Regions from separate parts of the Homo sapiens genome. Here region 1 is linked to region 2. The links are contacts of gene promoters, found by promoter capture Hi-C in human tissues and cell types (Jung and others, 2019). All regions are on one chromosome and are shown on one strand. The core of a region is centred on a gene start or on the middle of the fragment in contact, and the rest is flanking DNA. Distances in the headings are between cores, read along the strand shown. Region 1 has its middle 31 kb from the start of RAB33B-AS1. Region 2 holds the start of ELF2 (E74 like ETS transcription factor 2).

What was found. Contacts are between HindIII fragments. The study calls those that stand out against the background at their distance.
Region 1: a fragment that was not itself captured here is called in contact with the fragment with the promoter of ELF2 in region 2 in 1 of the 25 tissues and cell types used here (thymus).

What each region holds. Positions count from the first base shown.
Region 1 is chr4:139,419,971-139,425,828 of GRCh38, forward strand. No RefSeq gene overlaps it. Among named protein-coding and RNA genes, the nearest start is that of RAB33B-AS1, 31 kb to the right of the region's middle. The HindIII fragment of the contact is 3,007 bases long and covers 1,808-4,814 here.
Region 2 is chr4:139,173,415-139,179,033 of GRCh38, forward strand. It overlaps ELF2 (E74 like ETS transcription factor 2), which reads right to left and starts at 3,804. Exons shown (of 10, transcript NM_001331036.3): 1 at 3,553-3,804. LOC105379412 (a long non-coding RNA gene) reads left to right here and starts at 2,741. Exons shown (of 4, transcript XR_007058273.1): 1 at 2,741-2,934. RefSeq lists an enhancer at 2,775-2,824, silencers at 3,425-4,384, 4,395-4,774 and a cis regulatory region at 5,141-5,265. The HindIII fragment of the contact is 12,940 bases long and covers 1-5,619 here.

The DNA of each region.
Region 1 (5,858 bases), core at 2,061-4,560, 250 kb after region 2:
GCATCTCAAAACAGAATATTCAAAATATCCATGATACGGTCCAAAATTACAAAGCAAACAAACAAAAAAAAAAACAACAAGAAAATCTCAATTCATATAGGGAAAAAAAAGGACAATGCTGAGATAACACAGATGATAAAATTGTCTGATGAAGGCTTTAAAGCAACTACTAATATTTGTTAGGAGTCTATTCTCCATTGGTCTCTTGCATTTCTACAGGTGTTCTAGGCAAAGGCATTAACAGCTTTTTCTCTGAACTATCTTTTTTAGCTGTTTGTATAGCAAACATCCTTGGAAGATAGAATGTCTTCCTTTGGGACCAAGGACAGATTTTTTTCCTTCCAGGATGAAAAAAAAAAGATAATGTCTCTCTCCAGGGCAAGGCTGGGCAGGTTTGCTGGCCCTTTATTGAAGACTGGTGTTTCCCACAGCATTCATAAATCCCACTACATATACAGGTATCACCAGGCCCTCACAGCATCACTGTGTGGGAACTGAGGCTCAGAAAACTGGGTTAAATGCTGATACTCTGCCTCCTGCTATTCGTGTGGGTAATAAACTGTCCTTTGTCTCTGACCCAGGAGTCTCGTGTCTTCTGTCACTATTCATGAAATTGTGGCAGCCTAACTTGTTAACTTGCAAGTAAGGTAAAATATCAGACCCTCCAAAGTTCTTGACTTTGTTATAACAATTCTCCTACAAGCAGTCACAAGCATTTTTGAAGCCAATAAGAAAAAAATAGAAAGTATCAGCAAATAAATAGAAGACATAAAGAAGAATCAAATGGATATTTTAGAACAGAAAAATACAATAGCCAACATTTAAAAAAAATTCACTGGATGGTTTCAATAGCAAGGTAAACATGACAGAGTCAATGAACTTGTAAATAGATCAATAAAAATTAACCAATCTGAACAGCAGAGAGAAAAAAGATTTGAAAAAACAATGAGTAGAATCTCAGAGACCTCTCGGATAATGACAAAAGGTGCTGAAAAATTTAGAATAATGGAAGAAAAGGTCTCAAATTTGGCAAAAGACAAATCTACAGATTTAAGAAGTTCAACAAACCCCAAACAGGTTTAACACATAAATTTATACCCAAACACATCACAATCAAAATGCTGAAAATGAAGACAAAGAAAAAAATCTTGGAAGTAGCTAGAGAAATTCAAAGTACTACCTACACACAAACAATCTGAATCACAGCAAATCTCTCAGCAGGATCCATGCAAACCACAGAAGTGGCACAATAATTTTTTTTTTTTTTTGAGACGGAGTCTTGCTCTGTCGCCCAGACTGGAGTGCAGTGGTGTGATCTAGGCTCACTGCAAGCTCTGCCTCCTGGGTTCATGCCATTCTCCTATCTCAGCCTCCCAACTAGCTGGAACTACAGGCACCTGCCACCACGCTCGGCTAATTTTTTTGTATTTTTATTAGAGACGGGGTTTCACCATGTTAGCCAGGATGGTCTCAATCTCCTGACCTCATGATCCACCCACCTTGGCCTCCCAAAGTGCTGGGATTACAGGCATGAGCCACCGCGCCCGGCCAGAAGTGGCACAATAATTTTAAAGCACTGAAAGTGTCAACACAGAATACTACATCTAGTGAAAATATCCATCAGGAATTCAGGTGAAATAATGGCATTCTCATATGAAGACAAACTAAAAGAATTCATTTCTAGCAGAGCTGTTCTAAAATAATTGCTAAAGAAAATTCTTCAGACAGAGGGAAATGATACCAGAAGGAAACCTGAAAACATCAGGAATGAAGGAAGAGCACCAGAAATGGTAAATATCTGTGTAAAAATAGTAGTCTATTCTCCTATTCTCCTCTTAAGTTTTGTTTGTTTTTTAAATTATACTTTAAGTTCTAGGATACATGTGCAGAATGTGCAGGTTACATAGGTATATATGTGCCATGGTGGTTTGCTGCACCCATCAACCCATCATCTACATTAGGTATTTCTCCTAATGCTATCCCTCCCCTAGTACCCCATCCCCCAACAGGCCCCGGTGTGTGATGTTCCCCTCCCTGTGTCCATATGTTCTCATTGTTCAACTCCCACTTATGAGTGAGAACATGTGGCGTTTGGTTTTCTGTTCCTGTGTTAGTTTGCTGAGAATGATGGTTTCTAGCTTCATCCATGTCCCTGCAAAGGACATTAACTCATCCTTTTTTATGGCTGCATAGTGTTCCATGGTGTATATGTGCCACATCTAGTCTATCATTGACAGGTACTAAGTTCTTTAAAAATATATTTGATGGTTGAAAATAACTGTACCATTGTCTAATGGGGTTTTAAACATATGTAGACGTAATTCATGACAACTCTAACGTAAGGGGTACAGGTTAAGTAGACCTATATGTAAGGTTTCTACATTCTACTTAAAATGGGGGGAAAAGACATTCTAAGCAGATTCAAAAAGCTAAATATGTATATTTGCATTATGTGAAACTCATGTTTGCCTCAGGGTCTTTCCAGTTGCTTTTCCTTTTGTCTGAAAAAATATTCCCCTATATATACACATCATTTGCTCCCTCAACTAATTCATGTGTCCGCATAAATGCCACCTCTTCAAGGAAGCCTTCCCTTAACCACCCTCATAAAATAACCACCTCTTCCCATTAGATTCTACCTTTATATTTGATTTTTTCTTCATTCATTTATCATTATCCAAAATTTGATATTTTTGTTAATTTATCTTCCCACTAGCATGCAGGTGATGGTCTGCCTGTTCACTTCTGTATTCCCAGGGCCTAGACCAATGCACTGGTTTTTGTTTGTTTAACCTATCAAGAACTGAGAGAGTTGCATAGAAATTTGCCACCTCCTGTAGTTCTAACATTTTTTGCTGTATATAGCTTAAGTCCATTTTATTAGTTACAAACAGGATTAGAATTTTTCTGTTTTTTTTCTGGTGAAAAAAACCTTTTATCAGTAGGTAATGACCTTTTTATTCTAATAATCTTTTTTTGTCTTAAAATCTTTTTTCTGAAATTAATGTATGTATGTGAATTCTTTGTATTAAGATCTGCCTGGTATATGTTTTTCTATCTCTTATCTTCTACTGTTTTGCCTGTATGTTTTCAGATTCTTGTATATGTCATACAGCTAGATTTTTCTTTTCATTTCAGTCTGACAAACTCTATCTTTTAATTGGTAAATGTCATACATTTATGTTTATTGTGATTCTTGATATAGTTGGATTTGTTTATATATCTTTTTTGTTTATATTTGCCTTGCTTTTTCTGAGCTACTATTTTTATAGCCCCAACGTTTTTGCATTTTTTTTTTTTTTTGAGACGGAGTCTCGCTCTGTCGCCCAGGCTGGAGTGCAGTGGCGTGATCTCGGCTCACTGCAAGCTCTGCCTCCCGGGTTCATGCCATTCTCCTGCCTCAGCCTCCCAAGTAGCTGGGACTACAGGCGCCCGCCACCATGTCTGGCTAATTTTTTGTATTTTTAGTAGAGACGGGGTTTCACCGTGTTAGCCAGGATGGTCTCGATCTCCTGACCTCGTGATCTGCCCGTCTCAGCCTCCCAAAGTGCTGGGATTACAGGCGTGAGCCACGGCGCTGGCTGTTTCTGCATTTTTAAAAAACTGACTTTATGGTTAGATTTTTTAAATTCCATTTTTCCTCCACTGAATTGGAATTCATAGCTCTGTATTTATTCCTTTTTTTTTTAACAACTGTCCCTGCATTTTATAAGTGTCTAACTTAACAAAATGTAAAGGCAAACATATCTTAACTTTCCTTTGAAACGAAGTAATGATCTTAGAATAATTTTAATTACATTGACCCTCCCCCAAATGCCTACTTGCTATTGTTATTGGAGGCATTAGTTCAAAACTTCACAAATCGGACCTTATTTTTCTAGACTGATGTTTGGACTGACAAGCTTGTTCACCATTTTATTCACTCACCATTCTATTTTGTACTTCAGACCATTCTTTTATGATAATTTCCTTTTTTTAAGCTCTGACTTAACAAAGCACTTATATTCCAGGTTTGGTTCTAAGTGCTTTATTTTATATTAGTTCATTTAATCCTCATAACAATTCCATGAATACAATTATTGTCAAAATTTTACAAGTGAGAAAAAAAACTGAAGCACAGAGGTGTTAACTCACTTGTCCAGTGTTCCACAGCTAGCAAATGGTGGAATAGGGATTCACACCTATGGAGTCTCCAAAGTGCATATTCTTAACTCCTGTGAAATACTATCTCTCAACTACAGTCACACATCACTTAATGATGGGATACATTCTGAGAAAGGTGAAATGTGTCCTTACGTGATTTCATCATTGTGCAAACCACAGACTGTACTTACACAAACCTAGATGGTATAGCCTACTACATATTTAGACTATATGGCATAGCCTTTTGCTCCTAGGCTACAAACCTGTATAGCATATTACTGTACTGAATAGGCAACTGTAATACGAGTATGTATTTGTATATCTAAACATAGAAAAGGTCCAGTAAAAATACAGTATTACAGGTTGCGTATCCCTAATCCTAAATCCTTAGGACAAGAAAATTTTGGTTTTGAATTTTTTTTTTATTTTGGAATATTTGCATGATACTTAGTGTTGAGCATCCCTAACCTGAAAATCCAAAGAAATGTTCCAAGGAACCTTTCCTTTGAGTATCATGTTGGCACTCAAAAAGTTTCAAATTTTGGAGTATTTTGGATTTTGGATTTTTGGATTAGCAATACTCAGCCAATATAATCTTATGGGACCACCATTGTATATGCGGTCTGTTATTGACCAAAACTTTGTCATGTAGTGCATGACTATATGTCATTTAGGAGTTTTGTGCATATCTCTGAGCTAAACTCTCAATTATCACTTATCTTTAAATGTCTCTATTTCACTCTTCTTAAAAGGTAGTCTGGGCAAGTACATAATTCTAGTTGACCATTATCTTTTGGCACTTGAAAGGTATTATTCCATTAACTTCTGGTTTCCATTGATGCTGATAATAAATCCACTGTCATTTTCACTGCTGTTCTTTTGCAAGTGATCTGCCCTTTCTAGCTGCTTGTAAGATCTTACAAATTCTGCAGGTTCTTTATACAATGTCATTATACATTTCTGTTTATGTATCCTGCTTTCATTATCTTGTGACTCCCAGATCTGTTAATTCATTTTTTTCATCATTTCTGCAAAAATCACAGCACTATTTATCTAAATGATACCTCTCATTAGAACACTTCTTACCAGTGGGAGGTAAAGGGCAGGGATTGACTAGCAAGGGGCATAAGGGAATTTTCTGAAGAGCAGTATATGGTTTTTTTTGACAGTTTGTGTTACACAGGTATATGCACTTGTAAAAATTTACCAAATATTGTACTTAAGATCTGTGCATTTTATTGTATGTACATTTTAAATACAAAAAAGCTATAGAACAATACTGAATACTAATGATGAACATACTAAAATGTTTAGTGGTGATGTCTACAACTTACTCTGAAATGCATAAAAAATAGGATTGATGGATGGTTAAGTGGATAGCTATATGATACAGTAAATATAACAAAATGTTCTAGAATTAATTGGTAAATGTAAAAGTTCACTGTGTAATTCTTTCAACTTTTCTGTATGTTTGAACAATTTCACAAAATATTAGGGGGCAGGGAGTATTGCCTCTACTTTTTTCCTTCTTTTCTTTCTTTCTGAGATTTCAATTAGTCATATGTGTGACTTTCTTATCCAAGCTTCCATCTCTTAATATTGTTTTCATATTTTTACTTCCTTGTCTCTCCTTAGTATACCCTGGGTAATTTTTAAAGATATCTTCTCATTTATTTTTTAAGAGACAAGGTCTCCCTCAGTCGCCCAAGCTGGAG
Region 2 (5,619 bases), core at 2,554-5,053:
ATAAATAAAATGTAATATGTCCATAAATAGAATATTACTCATCAATAAAAAAAATGATTACAGGGTGGGTGCAGTGGCTCACACCTGTAATCCCAGCACTTTGGGAGGCCGAGGCAGGCGGATCATGAGGTCAGGAGATCAAGACCATCCTGGCTAACACAGTGAAATCCCATCTCTACTAAAAATACAAAAAATTAGCCGGGCGTGGTGGCACGCGCCCGTAGTCCCAGCTACTTGGGAGGCTGAGGCAAGAGAATCGCTTGAACCCGAGAGGCGGAGGTTGCAATGAGCTGAGATCGTGCCACTGCACTCCAGCCTGGGCAACACAGCGAGACTCCGTCTCAAAAAAAAAAAAAAAAAAAGACTATAAAAAATTTTTTTAATTAAAAAGGATCAGGTGCAGTGGCTCAAGCCTGAAATCCCAGCACTTTGAGAGGCCAAAGAGAGAGGATTGCTCAAGCCCAGGAGTTCAAGACTACCCTGGGTAATATGGTGAAACCCCATCTCTATAAAAAAGAAAATAGATTAGCCGGACGCGGTGGCTCACCCCTGTAATCCCAGCACTTTGGGAGGCCAAGGCGGGCGGATCACGAGGTCAGGAGATCGAGACCATCCTGGCTAACACGGTGAAACCCCATCTCTACTAAAAATACAAAAAAAAAAAAAAAATTAGCCAGGTGTTGTGGCATGCGCCTGTGGCAGGAGAATCGCTTGAACCGGGTGGCAGAGGTTGCAGTGAGCCAGATCACACCACTGCACTCCAGCCTAGGCGACAGAGCGAGACTCCATCTTAAAAAAAAAAAAAAAAGAAAGAAAGAAAATAGATTTTAAAAAAAAAAGAAATGAAGTACTGACACATATTACAACATGGATATACTTTGAAAGCATTATGCTAAACGAAAGAAGCCAGTCACAAAAGACCGCATTTATGGTTTCATTTACATAAAATGTCCACAACAGTCTAATCTATAATGATAGAAAGTCGATCAGTGGTTGCATAGGACTGGGAGTGCTGAGGGAAAATGAAAAGCGACTGTTAATGGATATGGGGCTCTTTTGGGGGATGATTAAAATGCTGTAAAATTGAGTATAGTGATGGCTGCACAACTCTGAATATACAGTCGGCCCTCCATATCCATGAGTTCTGAATACATGGATTCAATCAATGAGGTACAGAAACTACTCAAAAAAAAATTATGTCTGTAAATGAACATGTACAGACTTTTTTCTGGTCATTATTCCCTAAACAATACACAGTATAACAACTATTTACATAGCATCCACATTGTATTAGGTAGTATGAGTGATGTGGAGATGATTTAAAGCATACAAGAGAATATGCAGAGTTTATATGCAAATACTATGTCAGTTTTATTCATTTTTCCTAGGAGACAGGATTTTGCTCTGTCACCCAGGTTGGTGTCCAAACTCTGGCCTCAAGAGATCCTCCCACCTCAGCCTCCTGAATAACTGGGATTACAGGCACAAGCCACTGCACCCAGCAACTATGCCATTTTATTTTAGGGACCTGAGCATCCATAGATTCTGGTGTCTGAGGAAGGCCCTAGAACAAATCCCCAACAGATACCGATGGACAATTGTAGTAAAAACCACTGAATTGTTCACCTGCAAAATGGAGTAATTTTTTAAAAAATTAATAAACCCACCAAACTGTACACTTTAAACTGAACTGACTAGTATGTGAATTATATCATCGTGAAGCTGTTACTCCTCCAAAAATGGTATACAACATGAGCAGGTAAAGCCACTAACATTAGCAGACCCTACAGGCCACAGGTACCAATCTGTTTACTTAGGACAGAAAAATCCCAAAGTTACAAATTCTTTCCAACCATACTCAAGCTGACTATTTTGTAAATGAGTATTTATGTCTGAAATGAAAGGCAATGATAAATCCAATGAGTTAAATCACTAAACTTAAAAATAGGTTGACATAAATATTCAAACTTCAAATGCCCAGGATATTCCAATTTTCTATTTCATGTGTTTAACTACTAGATATCGTCTCAATAATATTTACATGAATGTACTCTGTAAACTGTAATGCTCTATAAAAAGTTTTATTATTCCTAAATTCCCTTAAATGTAATTTAATGGTTTCCAGTCCTATATAAGTCATTCTACCTTTTGAAGAAACTCTGAAACACAAATATCCAATCCTTTCTTAGTAAAGCATACATCCTTCCGTGATTCTGGCACCAAAGAAAGTGCATAATTTACTTCAGGATAGAGAATCACAGATAAAAAGGAAAACAAATCTGATTATCAAACACACGATTACTATTCTCTCATCACCGGATTACAATTTAAACCATTAAGCTGAAGTAAATGTTCATGAACACAAGAAAGGGGGGAATTTTTAACAGTTTTACAATGACGTGTCCCCCTCTTCCTCATTTAATGAAGTACTAAACTTAAAGGCTATTCTGCAGCGAATCTGCCTCCTAGAAAGAGTCCATCCAGGATGCTGGCAGAGGGAAAAAGATTAGAAACTGTGCGATCTGGATTATTCTTGGTGTCACGGAATATTTTTTGAGTCCTTTATGGACATGGAATAAAAATGCCCAAATGGAGCAGAAGAGAGGGCTCGGCTACCCTGATCACAAAGCTCCTGGGGTAGAGTCAGCATCCAGCCCTGGCAGAGCCCTCCCTGTCCTCCTTCCGCGCCCCTAGACCATCCCGTCGCGCGGTCCCTGAGGACCAGCTTCGCGAGGATCCAGAAGGCGGTCACTGGACGTGCCTGTTACGAGCCCGTTTTTGTTTTGCTTAAGAAACAGATTCCGATCCGAGCAAAGCCTCCCTACCTCCCGGGGAATAGGGGGAGATGGCAGCACGGTGCCGGCGTGGAGAGCGAGAATAAAAGAACTGCCGAGTACAACCTGTCGTGCAAGCTAGCAGCGCCGGGAAGGAAAGGTAAGCGGCGGCGATAAGGCACGACAGGGAAGGAAACTGGTGTCCAGCGCCCCCCCCCGCCTGCCCGCCACCCAGAGCGGCCGGAGCCTCCCAGGTCCCGCCCCGAGCTCGCCGCCCAGCCCCGGCGCCGGCCGCAGACTCCCGCCCTACACAAACCCTCCCAGGACGCGCTTCCTCCGGAGCCGGACCCCCGCCCTGGCCTCCCCGCGGGATGAGGCGGGTCAGTTCAGTCCGCTTCTCGGCAGAGGTGACTCGCGCAGAGATGTAAACACGGAGAGACCAGCTGCGCTCGGCCCATCCCCCCCGCCGGGGTCTGTAACCTCTTCCCTCAGCCCTGCCCCGCGCCCCGCGCTCCCCGCGGGCAGGCGCGCAGCGCGCCTTCCCCTTTCTCCAAGTCCCGCTCCGCGACCGTTGCCTGGGGACACTCAGCCCCCTTCCCCCAGCCCCCGGCCGGTGTCACCGCCGCAGCCGCCGGAAAACCCCTCCGCAAACCCCGAAGCAAACAACACAAGCGCGGGGCGGGGGCGCGGAGGGAGGCGGCGGCAGTCGGGACAGCCAGGCTTTATCGCCGCGCCCTTCGCGCTCCCTCTCACCAGCCTCGGCTGCCCGCGCTCTTACCTGCTCTCCGCGACGCCTGGGAAGACCGCGGCGTCCTTTTCCCTCTCAGCAGGGCCGCGGACTAGCCGCCGCCGTTGGCCGAGCGTCCGGAGGGAGCCGGGGCCTCCCCAGCAGCCCGAGCCGCTCCACAGGGAGAGAAGGAGACAAAACAGAGGCTCGCCGCCCCGCGCAGCGACCCCCGCCCGCGCCGCCCCACCGACCCCCAACCGCCTAGGCGACGGCGGCGACACAGAGCTTGGCGCTGGGAGCAATGGTTGCCCCCGCCCCGCTCCGCTCCCGGCCCCCTCCCTCCACCCCCCGCCTCGGCTCCTCCCCCTCGGCCTCCTGCCGCCTCCACCAGGACACTGGAGTCCGCCTCCCCCTCCCCGCCAGCTCAGAGTGCTCCTCCCCTCCCCACGCGGCGGGGGGGCGGGGGCGGCACCGCCAGTCACCGCAGCGCCTGTCAAACGCGGGCCGGCTATTTATACCCCGCGGGGCCCCGCCGCCCTCGGGCCCCCACCAGCCCGCCGAACCTGCTTCTTTTGCTGTCTTGAATCCCGCCCTCTTCTCCTCGCCCAACTTCTCCCAAACCCGCCTTCCCAGGTAAAGACGCTCGTCACTTGTCCGGCTCCTTGCCCAGGGCTCCCCGATCTCGCTCTCCACTCCAGCCCCGGATTGGTGCAGGGGGCTCTGCCGCACGGGGCAGGCGTGTGAGGCCGATGGGGCCGCGCGTGCACCTGCAGCGCCCGCCGGCTTTCCCCCGCCGGCCGGGACCGCACGCACACACCCTCGCCACTCAGGGCCCCCGCAGGCCCCGCCGTCACCGCATCCCCAACTCAGGACTCTCGCCCTTCTCCGGAGACGGCCCCACAGTCGGGCAGTCTGACAGTTACAGGGGGGCGAGGTTTTGCAAAAACTCCTAGCCCGGTCTTTCCAGTTCCCACTCCTCAGCCTTGGCTTAGTGAAAGGTGGGGGTTCGGGCAGGAGCGCGACGCCGGCCCCGCCCCGGCCGGTGACGCACGTGGCGCACCGCCCCGCCAGCCTCGCGCCCCTCGGCGCCGCCAGCTCCTCCTCCCCGCTAGCAAAAGCCGGGCGTAGTACACCCGCGACCCCGCCCCATTCCCAGAAATTACCACCCGCCCAACAGCCCGGCCGCGCGGCGGTTGGTGCCGGCGTTTGCTGGCTGTCGGGTGGCTGGGCCCAGCGCGCAGCTGCGGAGCGCGGCGGGCGGCCCCTTGGAGCTGCCCGGGGAGCTGCGGGCACTCGCACCTAGCCATTGTCGCTCCTTGCGCGGTCCGCAACGGAGAAGTAACTCAAGTCTGAGTGTTGTTGGTGCGAGAATGAGAGAGTGTTCTGGTGTGGGAGTATTTTGGCCCAAGTGCCTGCGAATTCGAAAACGAAAACCCAGCAGTGGCTGCACGCTTCTGGTTTCCACACTTTCACACAAAGGGGAGCCTTCGAGCGGGGCACTCTCACGCGCCTTCAAGTGCACAAAAGCCAATGACACGGTGCCGTGGGTTGCCCTGTGTAGGAGCGTCTCTTTAATGGGCTTTGTAGGCACAGTTAATGCATACAAACGCCTCAGTCTATTTCTTCACCACCACCATTCCCCGCCGCGGCGTTTTCTGTATTTGTTTCTTTAACAAAGAGCACAGCCTGTCCGGTGCGCGCGGGGCTCCTTTTGCTCCCCTCCAGGGCTCCTGCAGCCTCGCCGCGATGGACCTGGCACCTGGCGCGGTATTCACCAGCTGATTTCTGGGCTCCAGCGTTACCCTTTTTACGGCTTCACAACCAGTCTGGAGCAAAGAAGAAACACTGAGGAATATAAGTGATAGCTGTTCTCTTGAAAGGGACGTGGGAACCGTGGAAATCACCCTAGAGTAAGGCTCAAATGTCAGAAAGCTGCAGGAGGCTCCAGATTTAAATCCCTGAAGAGCCTAAGAATGTAATGATCTCTTTCTTTTGTTAATACTGCTGTTGCCTCTATTTTCTTGGGGGTGAGTCTTCTCTTCCTTTCTTAAAAAGCAACTCTGGGCCGGGCGCAGTGGCTCACGCCTGTAATCCCAGCACTTTGGGAGGCCCTGGAGG